2 separate regions of the Homo sapiens genome follow, and region 2 is linked to region 1. The links are contacts of gene promoters, found by promoter capture Hi-C in human tissues and cell types (Jung and others, 2019). All regions are on one chromosome and are shown on one strand. The core of a region is centred on a gene start or on the middle of the fragment in contact, and the rest is flanking DNA. Distances in the headings are between cores, read along the strand shown. Region 1 holds the start of PRRG1 (proline rich and Gla domain 1). Region 2 has its middle 39 kb from the start of PRRG1.

Region 1 (3,622 bases), core at 329-2,828:
AAGGCATCCCTAACACTCCCCGCCCTCCACCTGCCCCAAATTTGGGAAAATAGAAAAAGAAAGAATAACATAACAATAAAACCAGAAGAAATCCTGTTCACCTCATGCCTGGGGTTGGTGCAGGGGTGGGGGTTGGGCGGGGTAATTGTGTTTTTAAGTATACTTCAGATCAGAAAGTAAACGTTTATAAAACGGGATTTACAATCGAGGGAAAGGGGTGGAGAGGAGGAAGTTCAGTTTATTTTGTTGTATTAACTTAAAACAAATGAGTAAAAATATCAACATCTATGCTTGGGAACACATATACTATCTTTCATAAAAGTCCCTAAGTTTGAAAATGAAAGCATATGGAGCTTTATCCAATATTACAATATTTGCCCTAATGTTTTGTATCCTTAATATTATTTTCAAAGGTTCTAAAGTGAGTCGGCCCAAGATCTTGACAGCACATCCACACACATGCCCAATAATCCACTCTTGATTGAAACAATCAACAGTAGCCTAACCAACTTTTCACTTACCCTGGCTTGAACACCTTCGCATCCTTCAAAGTCTGGCTTTATAGTATGACCATCAACAGACAAATAATTAAGCTCTAAGTTTTGTCACTCAACCTCTTCATCCTTTCATTCAATTATTTCCTCTCAAATCCCATTAGTTTCGCTTTTCTCCTAAAGGGACTCGTAGAAAATACTTGCACAGCACAATCACAAAAACCAGTGGCTGGAGCCAGAGTCCAAACGCGCACACACTACTTTCCAGTCATATCCCTCTTGGGGCTGTTCCTACCAGTGATCAAATTCAGCGGACCAGGAAGAAGGAAAAACCTGAAGCAGGAAGACTGTTTCTCTTCCTTTCACTTCCCCCCACGCCGCCTCCCCCTCCCCCCGCTCTCCCATCCCCCAGGGCCGCACCGCGACCGACCTCGCACGCACCCCCTCCCACTGTCACCCGCCACTGCCTACAAAACAGTCATAGCCTTTGTTAAAATGTCCACGGGCACAATGGATCAGAAGAGGGACACATTCCCGGGGGTGGGTAAAGGAAAGTCACACGAACGCCACGCCCTCCTTGGGACTAGCCCGGGCCGACAGCCCACCGCCTCCAAATCCTTTCCCCTCCGACGGGGAATGTTTCTAGCAACTCTGCACCAGAGAAAGCAGCGCTGGAGGAAGGGATGAGCTTGGGACGTCCCTCATGGGCACCAAGCAGGGGACTGAACTTGAAGCTGGGACACCCTCCAGCACCGTTGGCAAGCCTCGCGGTCCTGCCCAGTCTGTGTGCGGACTTCCAGCCTGTAAACCCCATTCCTTCAATTTTTTTTCTCGTCATACCCACCCTCACCCACTCCCGCTACCACGCACTCCGCTCCCCACGCGGCCCTGGCCGGACACCCACAGGCAGCGTCGCTACCAACGCTACCGCATATCTGACGGGTTTCTCCTCGCAGAACCGAAGTCACCCCCACACACCCCAATCCTTCCTGGGGCGCTTCGCCTGGATCACGTTTCCCCAGCTAGGAACCCAGCGCGGCCGCCACACTCACAGCGGGTCCCGCTCCGCTACTCGCCGTTCTGCGAGCCGCACGTCGCGCCTGCGCGCTCCTATTTCTGCCGAGCCTAGCTGGAGCCAGGAACCGGGAGCGGACTGGAAGGGAGGTGGAAAGAGGCGGGGGCTGGGCTGGGGCGGGGTTAAGAGAGAAGGGGCGGGAACAGGGTGGGGCGCGGGGGTGGGAAACGAGGGGCGGATCCTCCACCGCTTCTGCTGGGAAGACCCAGGGCTCAGGGCATCCTGCTGGAGCTTTCCACTATTGGGGTTTATTTATAACACATACAGAAAAGCCGTCGAGGCCCCTCTGTGCACTCCCACACGCACCGTGGAGAAAGCCTGGCTCGGCGCGGGCCCAAGTAGTCAGCCGTTGGGCCGCCACGTCTCTCCTAGCCACCGCGGGTCCCCGCCAGCCTTTTTCTCTTTCGCATACATACCTCACCACACATTATTCCTTTTCCTAGTCATTTCTCCTCATCGCGTACTCTTCAGCCCTGGTGAAGTGAGGGGCATAGGGATTTCTCATCCACAGACCGCCTGTGTAGGGCATCCTAGTTAATATACCTCTTTGCTATGTGTGAGCCCAGATCGTGGTTGGTGACTATTCGACCATTGTCCACTGTTACAGCTCAGAGAATTGCACTTTCCTTGAGGAATAATTCCCTTGCCACTGTTTCCGGACAACTCTTGGTGACAACTATCTGCTTTTTCTAAAAAAAAAAAAAAAAAAAAAAACCGTCTTGTACAAACTTACCCAAATATCTTGAGAAGAAAACCCATCTTTGACCTCGCTTTTTAGGTAGAGCTATCTTAGAACTTGAATCTTAAACTTCTACAAGCCCCTCTAAGAAACAGAATAAAAGGCTTTTGCTATTGTGTAAACTTTGACCTAATGCTTGGAGGTTTTCTGGCATTTTGCATCATAAGGAGTCTAGCTTGATTATTATTCCATGCTGCATGCGTGCTTGGTTTTAACTTGTATGCTTTTCTGTTTACAGTCTGGTCAGCTGTGGCATCTCACATGCTTTCAGATCAGCTATTAAAATAAACACACGCCTGAGTGAATCCAAAGTGAATTGGGCTGTGGACCTGAAGTGATTTATTCCAAACTAAGTTCCCCTTCTTTTTACTTTAATTGTGATGGAATTAAGAAACATTTGGCTTATTAAGAATAAAAGAATTGCCACAGGACCACACCAATAGTCTTTCCTAGCAAGCATTTTAACTGTGATGGGAGCATTTTATGGGAGAGTTTGGTGATTGCCCTTAAAGATCTGAATATCCCAAAATTCTTCCATTTAACCTTTCTTGTCTTCCATTCATATATTTTACAAATCAGATTTTCTAGAACTCATTTCTATCTTGCACTTGTCAAATAAGCCTAGGGAGGATGTAGAGAGATATATTGCCAAAAGGTATATTGGTAATGTAGGCACAAATTTTGCAGGATTAGTAAGTCTGTAAGTGCCTGGAAGCAGGACTTTGTCCTATTCATTTCACTAGTAAAATATTTCACATACATGTTCTTAAAAAAATTGCTAGGCTAATAAAAGTAAGATTTGCATCCTTAATAAATGTGCATATGTGTTTTTTTAAAACTTTTCACTTGATTATTTTTTTCTTTTTTGTCTAAATTTTTCAGGATATTTTGGTTGAAATGACAAAAACTAGATTGAAGTAGATCAGGCAAAAACAGGAAGTTATTGTGTAACCCAAGTTGTGAAAGGGTAGGTCTATGATTGGCCATAGGATTAAATGGAACCAGCAACAGGAATGCTTTGAATTCCAGCTCAGGCTCTCAATACAGACAGGGTCATTCTAACAGAACATCTCAAAGTCATGTTCTGCTGGTTTGGCACCGTAGCCTGTTACAAGTTGCTCACACCTACCAAGTTCCTACCAGAGAGAAAGTATCTCTCTTCTCTCACTTCCAGTTTTTAAAGCAACAGTTAAAACATCTGATTGGGTAGAATTGAGTACCGTAACCACTCCTGAAGAGAAAATGCGTATGTGACATAAGAATGGGACCCAATTAGAACCACATGGTTAAAGAAAAAAAAATAAAGAGAAAAAT
Region 2 (3,629 bases), core at 389-2,888, 39 kb after region 1:
TAAAACAGTCATCCAGGAACTTGTTACTCAGGGGCCAGCAGTGTCAGCATCACCTGGAAGCTTGTTAGAAATGCAGGTTCTCAGGGTCCACAGCAGCATCAGAAATTGTATTTACTAACATCCCCAAGTGGTTTATAGCACACTAAAGTATGAAATACACTTAGAGGAGCATGAATAGATCAGAGAAGAACAGTCTGATAGACCAGCTACATGAAGAGCCCGTTTGAGGTTTGCAGCATGAATTTAAAGAGAGACCTATCTATATGGTTATGGATTTTTCTCCAGTCAAATGCAGTAGCAGGGCACAGCTGCAGAGTAGGCAGAGAGCTAGAGTGATTAGAGTTGTAACTGTTTTAAGGAAGTACATTTTAATAAGAGGGAGTCAAGAGAGTTGTGAATATATGTAAATAAATGCATAGACACATATTGGGGTTACATACTCAAATACATGTGTGTGTGTATGTAAATGTGTGTGTATATATGTGTGTGTATATATATATATATATATACACACACATATATCTGCTGATAATATATGTGATACAAAAAGTTTAGAAACACCTGGTTTACATCATATTCTCTGAAGCATTACCTCCCCTAGAGGACACTTTTTTTCAATAGGGACTTCTGAAAGTCAACTCATTTTCAATTTCCACAAGAAAATGTTTTGATGGTTTTATCCAAGGAGTTCTGGTCAATTGGGACTAAGGAACTTGCTGATGTCCCCTGAAATCACACCTAAATTTAACAGTGTCCTTCCTTGAGGTACTATTTTGATATTTGCCACATAATCCTTTAAGATTTTTTTTGAATGTGGAAATTCCAAGCATGAGTATCACCAATGTGAAAGGTTTTGTCTCCAAATTTAGGGGCCATCTGTATAAGGAAATGTTACAGAATGAGCCCATAGTGCTCGTGAGCGTTTTGATTGTTTCTGCTGTAACACTCAGAATAAAAATCAAAGACTCTGGACAAAGATTACTCTTGTTGGACTTTGACTATTCATTGAACAGTGTTTAAGCCATAGGCACAACAGAAAATGTCTAAATTACCTTAACCATAGAGTCAAGGATTCTAGAGTATAGAAAGAATCTTCAGGTCTTCAGGTTCAATGTCTCATCCAGTCTACAGATAAATGTTCATCCAGCAGCACGAATACTTCCAGTACTGGAGAACGCCTTCCTGCCAAAGTCAGCTAATTCAATTGCTTTTTATATTGACTCTGTATCTGTCTCCCCAAAGCTGCTACCATTGGCCCCAGATCTGCTCAAATAGAGCAAAAGAGAATAGCTATGACTCATTTATAAAGTTTTCAAAACCTCAAAAAATAATAGGCAGAAAGAATAAATAAGACCGAGTATTTGATAGCATGACGGGGTGACTATACTCAATAATAATTTAATTGTACATTTACAAATAACTAAAAGGGTATAATTGGATTGTTTCTAACAGAAAAGTTAAATGCTTGAGGAGATGGATACCCGATTTTACATGATGTGATTATTACCCATTGCATGCCTGTATCAAAACATCTCATGTGGCTCATACATATATACACCTACTATGTAGGTGTATATTAAAATAAAATTAAAATTAAAAATTAAAAAAAGAAAATTCTAAGACTGCTCCTCTTTCAGTGTCAGCCTTGAAACTCACACTGCCCACTGCATGTTTCTTATTTATTCATATCTCTATTAGGATAAGGACCTTAGAAACACATACATCTGTCCAAATGATGTTTGACCATTTCAGAATACCATGGGAGTTCTACCTCCATTGATCTGGGCATGACATTCCCACTAATTTAGAATAAGTTTCCATTAGTTTTCCAATGACTCAGTTAAGATTGTTAATTCATAATAAGGAACAAACCCACCTGGGTGTTTTCCACATTAGTTACTGTCAAGCTGTGTCTCCTCCATCCGGTACTAGTGATCAATCTTTCAGACTTTAATGCAAGGCTCTTGTTTTCCCTTAATAGGCTTCACCTTGTCGGTTTCACCTCATCATTCTATCCCATCAGGTTCCGTAGTAATTCTGTTTCCATTTTCTGAGGTCTAAGCCAACTCTCCTATGCAGAAAAGAGTGAACATGGCAAGCCTTAGAAAGGCCTGCTTGTAGGGACATGGATGAAGCTGGAAAGCATCATTCTCAGCAAACTAACACAGGAACAGAAAACCAAACACCGCATGTTCTTAGTCAGAAGTGGGAGTTGAACAATGAGAACACATGAACACCGGGAGGGGAACATCACACACTGGGACCTGTGGAGGGGTTGGGGGTGGCGGGAGGGACAGCATTAGGAGAAATACCTAGTGTAGATGACGGGTTAATGGGTGCAGCAAACCACCATGGAACGTGTATACCTATGTAACAAACCTGCACGTTCTGCACATGTATCCCAGGACTTAAAGTATAATTAAAAAAAAAAAAAAAGGCCTGCTTGTAAGCTTTGCCCATGACTGCTTTCTGAGAGCTTAGATCTGGGAGGGGGCTGTGGCGGGGGGGAGGTGGGTTCTTAACATTCCCCAATTGACAAGGGTGTTTACTGTCCCTGAACTGTTTGTGCAAACAATATGGTTTATTCTGAGCACCTGCTATCCTTCTGGGCATCTGAATTTCTGGTACACGATAGTCAGAAGGTGCTCATGCTGCCAACTCCAGTAGAAACCCTAAACTGAGTCAGAAAGTGATTCCCTCAGGCAGAAACATCACACACATTGCTGCATTTTTGTTGCTGGAAGAAGAGGATGTTCTACGTGACCGCTCACAGGAGGTATGAACATAAGGAGGCCTGTACAGGAGGTACGAGCATAAGGAGGCCTGCACAAGACTCCACCTATGTCTTTTCCCATTATGACCTGACAAATTCCCTACCATTTGCAAAATCAACTGATATAAAGCCAAACATATTAGTCAGTACTGGCCCTGGTGCATAGGAAGGCGTGGTCAGGCCGGGCGCTTTGGCTCACGCCTGTAATCCCAGCACTTTGGGAGGCCGAGGCAGGCGGATCACAAGGTCAGGAGATCGAGACCATCCTGGTTAACACGGTGAAACCCCGTCTCTACTAAAAAACATACAAAAAAAAATTAGCCGGGCATGGTGGCGGGCGCCTGTAGTCCCAGCTACTCAGGAGGCTGAGGCAGGAGAATGGCATGAACCCGTGAGGCGGAGCTTACAGTGACCCGAGATTGTGCCACTGCACTCCAGCCCGGGCGACAGAGTGACACTCCATCTCAAAAAAAAAAAAAAAAAAAAAAAAAAGGGAAGGCGTGGACATTCCCAGAAAGAGCATGAGAAACAGCAAGAAGAAAGTACTCTGCCTGGGTCTCTAAGAGAATATTTGTTAGTCCTGGAATGTCAAAAATGGAGACAAAATGCAAAGAAACTAAAACATCCCTATTCAAACTCCTCTTGAAGATTCTAAGCAAGTACTGGTCACATTATTTTTCAAAATTTACACATAACTAAGAAGTCAGGGAAAAGAAGGGAATGGACACATTACTAGAATTCAGGATTAAATCTGACTACTCAACTATCATTTATTAAGCTTTGACTGAATACATGTATCACTGTAATAAATGTTGAAGAGCTCCCCCTCACCAATAAAACATACCTCTCAGAAGCT

The links. The method cuts DNA at HindIII sites, captures the fragments that hold promoters and counts their contacts. A contact is called where the count stands out against the background at its distance.
Region 2: a fragment that was not itself captured here is called in contact with the fragment with the promoter of PRRG1 in region 1 in 1 of the 25 tissues and cell types used here (pancreas).

Annotation. Positions count from the first base shown.
Region 1 is chrX:37,347,320-37,350,941 of GRCh38, reverse strand. PRRG1 (proline rich and Gla domain 1) reads right to left here and starts at 1,578. Exons shown (of 4, transcript NM_001142395.2): 1 at 1,547-1,578. RefSeq lists enhancers at 760-1,270, 1,271-1,782. The HindIII fragment of the contact is 19,124 bases long and covers 1-3,622 here.
Region 2 is chrX:37,308,165-37,311,793 of GRCh38, reverse strand. No RefSeq gene overlaps it. Among named protein-coding and RNA genes, the nearest start is that of PRRG1, 39 kb to the left of the region's middle. The HindIII fragment of the contact is 5,199 bases long and covers 1-3,629 here.